Linked DNA regions of Homo sapiens: regions 2 and 3 are each linked to region 1. Evidence: promoter capture Hi-C in 16 types of primary human blood cells and fetal thymus (Javierre and others, 2016). All regions are on one chromosome and are shown on one strand. Each heading gives the region's core, a stretch centred on a gene start or on the middle of the fragment in contact. The rest is flanking DNA. Distances are from core to core; before and after follow the strand shown.

What was found. The method cuts DNA at HindIII sites, captures the fragments that hold promoters and counts their contacts. A CHiCAGO score of 5 or more calls a contact.
Region 2: a fragment that was not itself captured here is called in contact with the fragment with the promoter of BDH2 in region 1 in 3 of 17 cell types (non-activated CD4 T cells, naive CD8 T cells and total CD4 T cells); the score reaches 9.7 in non-activated CD4 T cells.
Region 3: the fragment with the promoter of TRMT10A here is called in contact with the fragment with the promoter of BDH2 in region 1 in 1 of 17 cell types (non-activated CD4 T cells); the score reaches 5.2 in non-activated CD4 T cells.

The regions. Positions count from the first base shown.
Region 1 is chr4:103,098,233-103,103,277 of GRCh38, forward strand. BDH2 (3-hydroxybutyrate dehydrogenase 2) reads right to left here and starts at 1,602. Exons shown (of 10, transcript NM_020139.4): 1 at 1,551-1,602. The HindIII fragment of the contact is 3,413 bases long and covers 719-4,131 here.
Region 2 is chr4:100,095,484-100,100,044 of GRCh38, forward strand. No RefSeq gene overlaps it. Among named protein-coding and RNA genes, the nearest start is that of DDIT4L-AS1, 92 kb to the right of the region's middle. The HindIII fragment of the contact is 4,881 bases long and covers 1-3,710 here.
Region 3 is chr4:99,562,570-99,567,507 of GRCh38, forward strand. TRMT10A (tRNA methyltransferase 10A) reads right to left here and starts at 1,470. Exons shown (of 8, transcript NM_001134665.3): 1 at 1,344-1,470. It also overlaps a transcript of MTTP not described here. RefSeq lists enhancers at 574-1,773, 1,009-1,138, 1,489-1,548. The HindIII fragment of the contact is 8,482 bases long and covers 1-4,338 here.

The DNA of each region.
Region 1 (5,045 bases), core at 352-2,851:
TTGGAGAAGTGTTTCAGAGATGAGATAGGTAGGACCTGATCACCAACGTGGCTAATTTCAAAGAAATGTTATTTGCCCAGTGTTTTGCAGCTATGAATTCAAACCTAGGCCTTCTTGTTGCAGGTCCAAGGGAAGATCTCATGGCATTGTCTCATGGTACTCAAAGCCCTGCGGGCCTCTCTAAATCCCCACTGTGGCACCAGGAGCCTGTGCCTCGCAGACCGCTGACCCCAGGAAGTAATGGACAATGAGGCGCAGCTGCTGCTGCCTCTCTGGGTTTGTGCTGAGGCCACCTTCTCGGGGCCGTTACAAGCCAGTGCCTGAGCATGCATGCTTACTAAGGCAGACTCATTTCTGGGAGACATAGACCTCCTCCCCAACGGATGACTGGCTAGAGAAGCTCCTTATTACCTTGCTGAAGTTCTCTTAGACTGCACAGCTGTCTGGGATGCTTCCACTCAACCTGGTTTCCTTCTTTTCCTCCCTCGCGGGTGGACTTGCATCGAGGTCTGATGGCTCTCACAGCCTTACCTAGTTCTCTCCTCATTCTCTCTCACAACAGCATTTCCCCTAATAAAATCCATGCATATTTAATTCTATCTTGGAGTCTGCTTCTTGGAGGAGCAGACTAACACAATTATGTAAGAACTGGCTCCAGGGATCAGCTTATAATCACTGACTTCCTCTGAGTTTGTCCACATTTTTTAGGCGATGGGGAAGCTTGGCTTTAACAGTGCCTGACCTACTTTGATGCAATGAATTTTTGCTTTTTTACTTCTTACACAAAAGATAAACATGGAATGTTTATCATTTCAACATGGAATGACAGTTTCTAAAGTATAACTTTAGAAAGATATACTTTATCCTCCTTGAATCCTAAGCATGGTGCACAAAAGCTATTTTACAACACTGTCATTAGTGATATTGGGTGTATGGCCCTGTAAAGCCTCCAGTCAAAGGTTTTGCTAGGAATCTTTGCCAACCGAAGAAGCACTTCCAGAACAAATGCCGAAGCACAGAGCAGCCTTTCTATGCACTCTGAAAACCTCCTCTTAGCTGGCCTTCCTGTCTTTCTGGGACCAGATTTTGGGGTCAAAGCCTTAACATTTGATAAACTGTAATCTCAAACTAAAACAGATTTCTTTGAGAAAATGAGAGCAAACACGGCCTGAAATGGTAAAACAAGGCACCTCTCAATATATCCAATGTGAAAACCATACATGTTGGCTTCCTTAGTCCAAAAGTTAGAATCAAAATGTTGATTTTTGATTAGCAGAGACACAAACAGCATATTCAGGAAGCCATTGTTTTCAAGAGCCAGGAAGAAAACTCTTCACTTAGGATACCGTAAGAATCCTTTTTTCTTGGGCTACTTTATAAAACATACATACCACAGAGTTTCAGGCTCTTTAAAAACCCATCTTTACACTGATCTAACTGCTCAGATTAATTTTGAAACAGGCAACGTGCAGAAAAAAACAACATCTAAAAATTAAACCTCCCCTCTTTCCGTTCTAAAGTTTCATTTCAAAAGTATTAGGAAATCTTACTTTAAGCAGCGAGCTGATGGCGTTCTCCAGAACTCGGTTTGAGCAACAAACTTGAGACAACCTTTGTCTGGAAGCAAGTCAAGCGCTTAATAATGCATGCTGGGATTTGTAGTTTCCCTGCTTTCAGAGTTTAGTGGCTCCATCCATACACTTTATAAATGTATGTGCTGCCATCTAGTGGAATTCAGGTAGAACTATGAATTCCAAGTGGAAGGTGAAAAGTGGAAAAGCACCTTAGAGCTTACTTAGGATGCGGAAATCATTTCCTTCACTTCAGTCTCTCCACTTCTCTGTTTTGTTTATGCCTACTATATGCGGTGCCAGGGTAGACGAGATTGGCTGAGCTGGAAACTGCGTGTGGAAGATAGCAGAGCAACAAAATAGAGGGAACCCAGGTCACTGAAAATTCTGGAGCCTTCCTGTCACTTGGCCTGGATTGTTTTAAGGGAGAGAAATAAAAAAAAAAATCCTTTTTGTTTGAGATACAGTTGTGATTTTTATTTTTTCATGCTCAGAATATTCTAACACTAATGCACATTTAGTGGCAGAATGCCAGGAGCCTTTTACTACACTGGGAATGGGGTTGGGGAGAACGTGAAACTTGGATGACAGGGTGGAGGCTTAAAAGGGAACATGTTAACAGCGAAAAACCCCAGTTTGGCTGAAGAGAACAGAGATATAAGGTCAAAAAGAAAGGACTAGATCTCATGAGCCCTCTAGGTTAGGATAGCAACATGTGCTTTATCTGTAGTGCCAGTGAGCAGAGTGATTGTGTAGGCTACTTGTACATGTACTGTATAAATTGGTTTCCTCAGCACCCATCCAACTCACTTTCCCCTTTTTTCACTTGTCAAAGCTGGAAAACAAAAGTCTCTACTTCATAGCCTTGTTTGCTGCTAGGGGTGGCCAAGCAGCATAGATGTTGCCAATGAAATGCAGGTGGGAATTTCTGAGGAGGGCCTCCTTCTTAAATAGAAAAGTAAGCCCTTCTGAAAGGCTTTTAGCTTTTGCTCCTCCCTTTCTTTTTGCCTGGAATGAAGATAGGATGCCGTGGGACAGAGCAGCCATTTAGTGAGTTCATCTGAGGCCAGAGGCACACATTAACGACAGGGACCAGCAAGAGAAGGAGCCTGCGGCCCTGATGACAGCCTCAAGGCAACAACTCCTCTGGACTTCTTATGTGAGGACAATAAACTTTAGTGTTTTTCACGTTTTTTGTTACATGGAGCTAAGTGATTTCTAACAGTCACAGGGGATAAGAACAAAGACTGTGGCGTCAGTAAGACTAGAGCAAGTCCCATATCTCTCTCTCACTAGCTAAGTGAGTAAATCACTTAAATCTCTGAACCTCTTATGTTTCTCATCTGTAAAATGAAGGTAAAATAGCACCTACCTCAGGGATGTGGTGAGGAGGAACGACTAAGCCTGTGAATCCATCAGCACAATGTTTGCCACACAGGTGCTTAATACATGTTAGTGATTCTTATGATGAAGACATTGTTGGAGAAATTTAATTATAATGGATGGTAAAAGTTGCGCTTTTTAATGTTCTTTTAAAAACTGGACTTAGTTTCTGCATGTGTCTATATGAGGTCTATGGTAAAATTGTCCCTCCTTGTTCATTGTTTCAGCAACTTCTAATGCTGGCTCTAACAATCTGTAATCACATCTAGCTTTGTTCCTGCTTTACTAATAATGCCCTTTGACTTTTGAGGCTTTTGGAACAGACTTTATGAGAGTTCTCTAATCAAAGCCAACTCCAATGCTTCTTGATGTAGCTTTCTTCAGCATCCCTCTGTAATCTTCAGCAACAATGCTTACTTGATAACAGCCTAAGTCACATGGTATTGCAAATACTTGCTTACCCATTAGTATTCTCAGCAGACTAAATTTCTTCAAGGGTGGGGACTATGTTTTACACCTTTACATTGTGATTAGCTCGTATTAAAAGAGTATTAGTTACTTGTTTTCTTATCTACAATATGAGTTCCACATTGGTAGTGCCTTTCAGTGCCTAAAACAGTAATTGGCAGATAGTAGATGCTCATTAAATATTTGCTGAGTGAATGGCAGTTTCTTAATAAGTTTCCTGAATATAATTCTGCCAGGCTCTCAAGACAATGTTTGTGATAATTAATTTTAGGTGTCAACTTGACTGGATTTACGGATCCCCAGAGAGCTGGTAAGCATTATTTCTGGGACATCTCTGAGTGTTTCTGGAAGAGATCGGCATTGGAATCAGTGAACTGGGTAAGGATCTACTTCACCCAATGTGGGCAGGCACTATCCAATTGGCTGAGGGCCCAGATAAAACAAAAAGGCAGAGAAAAGGTGAATTCTCTCTCTTCCGGAACTGGGACATCCATCTTCTCCTGCCCTTGGATACCTGAACTCCGACCAGATTCTCAGGCCTTCAGACTTGGACTGAGCCACGCTCCTAGTTTCCCTGGCTCTCCAGCTTGCAGACAGCCTATGGTGGGACTTCTCAGCCTCCCTAATTGTGTAAACCAATTCCCCTAATAAACATCCTCTCTCTCTCTCTCTGCATATATATATATATATATTTTTTTTTTTTTCCTCAAGCTTCAGTGGGGTTACATCCCAATAAGCCCATTGTAAATTGAAAACATTGTCAGTTGAAAATGTATTTAATATACCTAATTCACTGAACATAGAGCTTAGCCGAGCCTACTTAAATGTGCTCAGAACACTTGTTAGCCTACAGTTGGATAAAATCATTTAATACAAAGCCTGTTTTATAACAAGGTGTTGACTGACTCATGGGATTTATTGAACAGAGTACACTGAACAGTGTCAGTTGTTTACTCGTGATCCCGTGGCTGACTGAGAGCTGTGTCTTGCCGCCACTGCCCATGATCACAGTAGAGTATTGCTATCTTATGAAGAGATCAGAATTCAAAGTAAAGTTTTCACTGAATGCGTATCGCTCTCACACCATCCCTAAAGTTGAAAAATCTCAAGTTGAACCATGACAAGTTGGTGACCATCTGTGTATATTCTATTGGTTCTGTCTCTCTGGAAAATCCTAAGACAGATTTTGGTAACAGGAGAGGTTCTAGAGGAACAAAATTTTAAGGATGAGTTTCCTGAGTTGGTTTTGGGGTTCCTGGAATTGGCTCTTAGTCTGATTAGATTTGAAAATGCTAAAGGCTCTACTCTTTGAGATGGGGTCACACTCTTGAACAGGTTGGAGTGCAGTGGCACCATCATAGCTGACTGTAGCCTTGAATACCTGGGCTCAGGCCATCCTCCTGCCTCAGCCCTCCAAATTGTTTTTTTTTGGTAGAGATGAGGTCTCAGTATGTAGCCTAGGCTGGTCTCAAACTCCTGGTCTCAAGTGCTCCTCCTGCCTCAGTTTCCCAAAGTGTTGAGATTACAGGGATGAGTCACTGCGCCCAGCCTGGCTCTCCTTTTAATAGTACAGAGAGCACTGATTGTCCAAGAAATGAACTGTTCATAGAGGTATGCAAAATG
Region 2 (4,561 bases), core at 20-2,519, 3.0 Mb before region 1:
AGGTGGGGTCTTAATTTCATCTGTGCTCATGGGAGACAGGGGGTGACATCATTTGGTAGAGAAGATGTCTGAAAATTCAGCCTCTTGAAAAGAACAATGTCAATCTATTCTCACTTTTAAAATTTGAAAAAGAGGAATGGTAATAACAACATTTACCATTTATTGAGCCTTCTTATGTGCCAGGTTCTAACCCGAACTGAAATCTAAAATAATTTCTCTTGAATCCTTAGAAGTTTGATGTTATTATCCTGATGTGTATGAGGAAAAAACTTAAAGAAGTTAGTATTTGCCTACCCTCCTACAGCTCATGAGTTTTGATGGTTTCTTGAGTTGTTGGGAAGATTTGCTAACACTGGTGGTCTCACTGTGCTTTTTCACTGGGGCATATGGTTATGGGTTAAAGAGTGGTGGCCTTGGCTTAGGGTTAACAAAAGTAATATTAATAGTAGCTGCAAGTTATTGAGTGTCCACTGTGAGCCAGTCTCTTCACGCTTATCATCTCTTAATTTTCACCAAATTATCTGCAAGGAAAGTTTTATCTTTTAATTTTCACAGAGGAAAGAAAGTTGACTGAGGAAACTGAGGTTTATGTTGCAAGAAAGTGATGAAACCAGGATCAAAGCCAGCTTTGCCTGTGTTCTTTCCACCTTCCAGTCCCCGCTGTCCTGTGAGGATAATTAGCAAACGCAGACGTGCTCGCTCGCACAGAACACGCTCCCTCTGGTGGAAGTCAGAGAGGTACACAATGAGGCCCTTGTATGAGTCAACCCTTTCTGGGTTTCAGGAGAATCTGACCTTGTTTCTTACTTTGTCATCTCCTGTTGCTTAGCTAGAGACCCTAAATATGCATCTTCTATTTGTGACTCTGTTTTTCTGTTTTGCTTATTATTATTAAAAATAGCTGACAAAACAAACAGTAGGGCAACTTACAAAATATGAATGAATGACACATACCCACAGTCTCTCCTTTTTTTTTGTTTTATTTTGTTTTCTTTCCCACTTTAGACACTTTGGGTGGTTAGCAAAATCTACCAGAATATATCTTACTTGTTTTCAGGATCTGTCAGAAAATTGTTATGTTGTCTTGGATCCTGAGCCTGCTGTTTTGCCCACACCCTTGTTTGGCATGAGGTGAGACTAGGAATAAGAGAATAAACAGTTGCTTGTACAACATTTTCATAGAGAGGAAGTTATTATATGACACCCAAGCAGAGAAACTCTTCTTCTTAATCCAGGATGACTGAGGAGGCCAGAGCTCTCCTTTTTGCTCTGGAACCATGAGCCTGCATTCCCTCGCTGCCTTTGGCACCTTGGCTTTCTACCTTCATGTTCTGAATATGTTGTGTTTTTCTCTCCCATTATGCTGTAAACTTGGCAATAGTGGGGACCGAGTTCCCTAACTGATTTTATCCTGTTTCTAGTAGTAAAAGGTTTTCAGTCAGGCTTGGTGGAAACAAATATAAAGAAGATAAATAGATTGGATATGAGTTCAAGTACCTGACAAGGAATTTGGACATTCTTTTATAGTCCAGTAGTTCTTAAACTTTTTTTTTTCCTAGGCCAGCGCCTGGGGATGTGATACACTCTGACCAGTGATTATTATCCTCTTTTCTTGAGTGCATGTGAGTGTGTTTTGTGGGGAGGGGAGAAGAGCAGGCACAGGCAGCCATCTAGTAAAAAGTTCCAATGAGAGGCATCTAGTTTTTGAAAAAAAAAAAAAAAAAAAGAAAAGAAAGAAAAAAAAAATCCCTTCATGGCATGTGAAAACCATCCTCCCAGCCCTGACCAGGGCGGTGGAGAGAGTGAAGAGCCACTGAAGTTTTTGAGTGGGAACATGGGAAGATGAGACGTATTTTTGGAATACCATTGTTCAGGTGTACTGGGCTCGGAGTGGGCATGAACTCAGAGATAGGAGGAAACTATAGTCCCTTTATTTTAATGCTGTGAAAATCTGAGCTATATTGTGGATAAGGAGCTGAAGAGGAGGGGTGAATGTGAGACATACAATGAAGGAATAATTGATAAGGGGAAGAAAGGAAGAATCATTACTACCTTTAGAGAATCTGAGCTTCCCTGATGGGGATAGAGTGATTCCATTAATAGTTACAGGGTAGTAAAATGGAAAAGCCAGGGCAGAAGACGTTTTCACTTTCTTAAGTTGACATCGGTTAGAATTAACTCTTGTTTAATTTTCATATTTGTAAATAGTTTTGTAGTCAAGCATTCCTCCTTACAAATATTTATTTTGTTGGAGGATGTTTAGTTTGCTAGGTACAAATAATTTGATGGCACAACTGTTTTTGCATGTTTCATCCTCTCTGAATTAAGACTCTTTATTTTTCATGAAATCTTTATTGATGCTAACATGTGAGAGTGAATACTTACAGAAATATGTGTGAGTGATGACAGTTTGAACAGATGGAATTAGTCAAATTCTCTTAAGTTCAGATTCATGTCTATAGATCAGTTTCTACAATCCAGATCATAGTCCTTTCTTTTATGGGGAAAATATCCCATGGCTTAATGGGGCAGATACTCTTCAAAGATAGCTGTCAAATCCTCTCCTTTCTTTATGCATGTGCAGCTTTTTTCTATCAGGAGGTGGGTTCTATCTCTCTTTTTCTGAATCTCGACAGGCTTTGTGACAGGCTTTAACCAATAGGAGGTGGCAGAAGTGAAGCTCTGCTGCTTCAGGGCCTTGCCATTAAGAGGCTTGGCAGAGTCTGCTTTTGCTGTCTTGGATCTCGTCCTCGATGCCGTAAGGAAATCTAGGCCATCCTGCTGAAGAGGAAGGTCATGAGGAAAAGCTCTTGAAGATGGGAAATCACGGAGAAAGAGACGGCGTGTGAGGGAGAACCAAAATGCCCCAGCTAAGAGCCAGCACCACAACTGGAGACATGCTCAGCCCCTCCACCTGCTGAGTGCACCACACAGAGCAGACACAATCCAAGCAATAATTAATCACTGTTTGCATCATTAAGTGTTAGGTTGGTTTGTACATATTGGTTAACTTACTTACTTATCTACTTAAAATTCCTTTTTATCATGTAATGATTAAAAGAGAAAAAAATGTAGGTTACAATGCATGATAATAAAACAAGACTTATGTGAACTCCCCAAGTGAGAACTAGAATATTTACAAAACTATTGAAGCTAAACCTGTGGCCCAATCAGAGATAATCACCTGATAATCAATTTGGCTATCCCCTTGCTTAAAAAAAAAGCATCGTCATTTATCTGTCACCAAATAACATAGCAATTAATTGAAGCAGGAATCTTTGGAGAAAGCTGTGTTCTGAGCCCTATCTCTTTGCTAATCTCTGAAAGGGAGGATATATGGGGATTATAGCTTAACTTCAAGACTTGAAAAAGAGATTTCAAGTGGATGACTCAGAGAGCTCTGCCTGTGCCCCCTGCCTCTGGGAGTTGAGTGGACAGAGATGGACTGGCTAACTGCTTTCTTTGGTGGCATAGCCAGGCGAGTTTCTGTTGCTGAGGTATTAGCCTGCATTCCCAAGGTTTATCAAAGAAAAGGTAGTGCTAGAGTTTTTCATGGACCATGGGCATTGAGAGAGAGAGAGAAGTTTTTAGTTGTGACCAGTATGAGCATCCAGAGAGCCAAAGAGACCCCAGCAGCAAGAAACCAAGTTCTGAGGTTCTCAAGGGTTGGTGAAGGAAAATTAAATAATAACCCAAAAGAGAGACTCACAAGCTTAGTTAGAATAACTGCAGGACAGAGGGCCCCAATGATACAAATCTCTGAAAAGCCCAGGAGAGCCCCCACAAGATAGTTTTCTTTAAACACCTGCCAGGTCCAGAAGGCCCAAAGACAACTCATGATCATACTAGTCCAAGTCACACATTTCTTACACTCTTTCATCTCCTCTCTCTGTTCAAAGACAGAGGAGATGAGCAGACCCTCTTGCTGCTCAAAGTGTGGTCCCAGGACCAGTAGTAAGAGCATCACTTTAGGGCTTCTTAGAAATGCTGAAACTCAGGCCCCACCCAGATCTATTGAATCATCTGCATTTTAACAAGATCTCCAAGTGATCTGAATATGCATTAGGGTCTGAGGAGTATGGAAAACCCAAGTTGGTGTTCACAAATTGGTAGACGTGCAGTGGGGAAAGCTTCCTGGGAATGAGAAAAATCAACACTTGAAACAGAGGAAAGCCTTTCTCATTAAACAAATCTTAGAGGGAAAGTGGGCAATGAAAGTAAAGTTGCATTTCATTTACATCCCTCATGTTGTGTGTGTTCTAAATATCAAGCATAGCCATTTGATAAAGGCTAGTTTATTTCTTCCCTTTTTGACTTTTATAATAGTTGTTTCTCAAACTGTAGTCTGCTTCAGAATCTCCTGGGCTACCTGAGCTTCAGAGCTAATGACTTGGACTTTGGACTCCACCTGTTTTGGTTTATTTTTGTTTTTTTTAGAGAAAGAGTCACGCTCTGTCACCTAGGCTGATATGTAGTGGCATGACCTTGGCTCACTGCAGCCTTAAACTCCTGGGCTTAAGCAATCCTCCTGCCTAGGCCTCTCAAAGTGCTGTGATTATAG
Region 3 (4,938 bases), core at 220-2,719, 3.5 Mb before region 1:
GGCTGGAGTGCAGTGGCGCAATCTCGGCTCACTGCAACCTCTGCCTCCCGGGTTCAAGCGATTCTCCTGCCTCAGCCTCCCGAGTAGCTGGGACTACAGGTGCGCGCTACCACGCCCAGCTAATTTTTGTTATTTTTAGTAGAGACGGGGTTTCACCACGTTGGCCTGGATGGTCTCCATCTCTTGACCTCGTGATCCACCCGCCTCGGCTTCCCAAAGTGCTGGGATTACAGGCATGAGCCACTGCGCCCGGCCTTTCTTGTTTGTTTGAGACGGAGTTTCGCTCTTGTTGCCCAGGCTGGAGTGCAATGGCGCAATCTCGGCTGATTGCAACCTCCGCCTTCTGGGTTCAAGTAGTTCTCCTGCCTCAGCCCCCCCAGTAGCTGGGATTACTGGCATGCGCCACCACGCCCGGCTAATTTTGTATTTTCAGTAGAGACGGGGTTTCACCATGTTGGTCAGGCTGGTCCCGAACTCCTGACCTCAGGTGATCCACCCGCCTTGCCCTCCCGAAGTGCGGGGATTACAGACGTGAGTCACCGCGCCCGGCCAGGAATGCCCTTTTAAAAGACATGCGGACTAAACGTGGAGGAGCGAAAAGCCCTTTGTTCACTTCAGTTGTCAAGCCTTTTGGGCAGAGGGTTGGGAATGGAAGGGGCAGATGAAATTCTTTCAGAAAGTGACAAGTAATGTGTTGCCATCCTCTTCATATCTGTAGAAAAATTCCCAAATTTAAAGTATTTCAGTGAAATCAAGTAACACTTCGATCTTTATAAAACTGTCCTCAGCTCACAGCACCTGCAGCAACTTCCCCTCGGGCTCTCTACATTTCAGAGAGTTCAGCGACGTCAGCCCTTTGCAGGAAAAATGAGGTAAGGCAGCTTTAAAGAGGTAAAGCCCACGGTCTCTAGCCACGAAGTGGCAGGGCCATAACACGCTTTCCGGCCCTTTAGAGTACAGATTTCCCACTGATTCTTTGCAAACTCACTTTTCACATACTACGGGCCGATGGCAACCCCAAAACACACGCCGACGGAAAGCGCCCCACCACGGGGCGGAGCCTCGCCCACTATCCCTTCTAGGCTCCCAGCCAGCAAACGCATTTCAGAGACGGGATTAAGCTGTCTCTGGCGAACCAGGGAGCAGCTGGGTAGGCCGCGGGGGGCGCCTGTCATCGACGTCATTTCCTTCAGCAAGAGCGCCGCAGGAAACCACTTCCACACCACTGCTCCCCTCTCCCCCGGAAGCCCTTGTTGCTAGTAGGGGGCTGCATGGCACGCGCCCCTTTGCGTCCAGAGAATACCATAGTGCGGGGGAGCGCCAACCAGTGCCAGGACACTTACCGAGCTGAAGAGTTGACAGGGAAGTGAAATCTCAGAAAGAAAGCCTTTCTGGGTTGGCCTGGTTACGGCTCACGCTTCCTTCCACAGAAACTTCAATTCCCAGAGGCAGGGGCGGTAGTTACGCAGTGGAGGCTACGGCGGTTGCGTCTTACGTCATCGAACTGCGGCCATTTCGAACCCGCAATGGAAGAAAGGGGAGGGGTTTATGCGGGGCGGGGTCTGGAGTTAGTGTTTTGGGAGTGGGAGGTAGTTACAGTGATGTCTGTTTTTTCCCGTTCAAGAATTAAGTGTGTACCTGCAGACGTGTATTCATTCATATATTCTTGTGAGTATTGGATGAAGGAATTAAGATAGTCCCACTGTTAAAAATGCAAAACAACGAAGAAAGGCTCCTAATTTTTCTGTGTTGAAAATGAGAGAAAAACATCTCTTGCCTATATTATTTTTAATTTATACAGAAAATTACCATATCACATGATTTTACATAACTCAAGTGGAAAATTAAATTCAAAAAGTGAGTCAGATTCACAATAAAATGCATTTAAATTTAGAATCTGTAAGGCTTTTTTATGGCTGAAGTAAAACAGCCATAGCTTTACTCTTTATTCATTCCTTGAGCTATTTTTCCTATGCTGTTTTGCAAAACATCAGATGACATTTCATTGTTTATAATACTTGACCTTATATAATCTTTTGCTATATATAGATCATGTCAACTGAGAGAGAAATGAAATACAACCCCGTAGATTGTCATTTTCTATTTAGTTTTTTTCTCCTCTACTTCTAATAGGTGATTATTGCAGAATTTGAAGGTAAGAATGAGGTTTGCATCTTGAATAGAAGACTGGCTTCTCATATAGAAAGAATTTTGAAGTAAATTATCCTTGAAGATATTTGAACATGTTTAAAGGCTTCAGTGAATAGAAAATTAAATCCAGAATTTGAGATTCTCTAAAAGAGCCGAAATTTCTTTGACTTTAGTTACAAAACTAAAGTCACTCTTGCCATAAGCCCTTAAATTTTACTTGAAACACTGTATCAGCTATAACACTGTTGTGAGTCCCTCTTCTGTTTCTTCCTCATCTCAAACCTAAAAGATCTTTGTTAACTGAGCACTGGCAAAAAAGTCTGGATCCACTTCTGATCTGTTAGTAGGGCATCTTTTTTCAGCTGCCTCCATATGAGGGCAAAGAGTAGCTGAGGGAGGATTAGTAATTGGATATGTAGCCCTTCACATGTAGGTCATTAAATTCAGGCTGGCAAAGTGATGTGCCAAATCTTTCCACAGCTGTTCAGTTGCTCCTATGGGATCTGTTTTATAAATAATTATACAGTTTTTTCAGAGTTAATACCTGGCCTCCTTAGATATTTTAAACAAAGTTTTAAAGCAAAAAAAACCACTTCATATTCTAATAATGAAGTCAATAAATTTTCTTTTGACATAGACATTTAACTTTGTAGTCATTTGGTGCAAAATTTAAAATGATTCTATTATTAATCCAAAGTAAGCACCAAAAGAGCACCAGCAAAAGTCAATTTAACAAAAAATTGAAACATATAGAAAGTTTAAGACGGTGAAATCATGTGAAACAATATTTTCATTGATTTGTAAAATTTATGTATTTATTTATTTGACACATGTATCGAGTTCTATGCGTTTTGTCTTAGTATTGGTGATACAGAAATGACGAAATCATGCTCTCTGTGCTTAAGGAATCCTTAATCTAATAGGGGAGCCAGCAGTAAATAAATACCATACAACATGTACTTGAGATGCTTGTACTTTGAAAGAAGCAACTAAATGCTCCTTGAGGCAGAGGACATAGTTTTGGAGATTAAATAATTTTGTTTCATCTTGGAAAGTAAGTAGGAGTTGTACAGGTGTCAGAAAAGTGAAGAAGTTTAAGATATTGGGAACAGTGAAAGCAAAGACCTAAGCGTGTCATAGTTTTGCACATGACTGAAAAGCTGTGGATAGAATGAGGAAGAAGGAGGAGATAATAACCCTAAGGGCTTCTCTAACTTGGACAACTGTAGGAATGCAGTAACATTAACCGGGTCATTTAGGGAATACTGGAAGAAAAATAGGTTTTGAGGCCGGGCGTGGTGGCTCACGCCTGTAATCCCAGCACTTTGGGAGGCCTAGGCGGGCGGATCACGAGGTCAGGAGATCAAGACCACCCTGGCTAAAACAGTGAAACCCCGTCTCTGCTGAAAATACAAAAACTTAGCCGGGCGTGGTGGCGGGCGCCTGTAGTCCCGTCTACTCCGGAGGCTGAGGCAGGAGAATGGCGTGAACCCGGGAGGCGGAGCTTGCGGTGAGGCGAGATCCTGCCACTGCACTCCAGCCTGGGTGACAGAGTGATACTCCGTCTCAAAAAAAAGAAAAAAAAAAAAAAAAAGAAAAATAGGTTTTGAAAAAATAGTTTTGTTTTAAAATATGTGCATTCTGGGGAGTCTGCAGGACATCTGAGTAGAAACAGATTTTAAAAAGAATGAGCACATACTTGTAGTTTAAGCTAATATAAGAGGTTGGACTCAAAGAGATACTACTCCATGGGTTACAAATGCATAGTATCTATGGGGACTGGAAGGTAGCAAATGAGAGAAGCGTCTAGAAGGAAAGTATCACAAACCTGAGAGTGCAATTCCTCTTTAATCAGGATAAAAGTTCCAGGAGAGAATATGGGCTTAATGGCACCAGATCTCATTTTTTTAAGAACAGCCATAAATATGAAATCTGGTTTTAAAGTGTTGGCAGCTATTTTGTTTGTTTTAAAATACTGAGCAGACTAAATAAAATATGTCTGTGGGCTATATTCAGACAGTTGGCAACCAGTTTGTTAAATTGGGCCCTAGTTGGTAGAATAAGAAGGAGGCTACAGACAGAACTAGAACTTTAGGACATAAAAATACAGTAATAACTATGATTATGAACCCCTCCGTAAGTTTGATTTCAAAACATTGGGCAATCATTACAAATTCCATTATTTTAAGCTTAATTCTAAGTCTTAGGATACTCTTCAGCAAGTTGGGAGTTGAGGAGATGTGGAAATAGAGTAACACTTGTGAGTACTTTAATTTCAGGCTAGGAAAGCCAAAAAGAAACCCATTTTTAAACATGACTTGAAAGGTAGCTACAAGGAAGAATCGGCCACTCATCTATAATCATTTCAACCTGCATTTCGACTGACTCCAAAAATACAGAAAAAAAACTTTAAAATGTATTTGTACATTTACATACTTATACATACATATTACTGGTATCCTCCCACGTAATATATGAATATTGAAGACTCTGGGAAGGTGATTAGACAGGCAGTGTAGTCTGTGAACTTCCTGAATCTCCTGATAAAAACAGGTAAAGCATCTAGGATAGACAATAACAAAATCCCAGAAGATAGCTATAACATAACTAGGTGAAAAGGAATCCCTAAAACCTCAAAATATGAACAGGAAGGAGCAAACCCAACTTAATATCAGCAACTGTGTAGGAGGGAATAGTGGGAAGACAACAGATCATCTGAAGACCCTCAGAATGGGAAGGCCCCAAAACTGCCAACAAAAAATCACTAAAAAACAGAGGAAACCAATG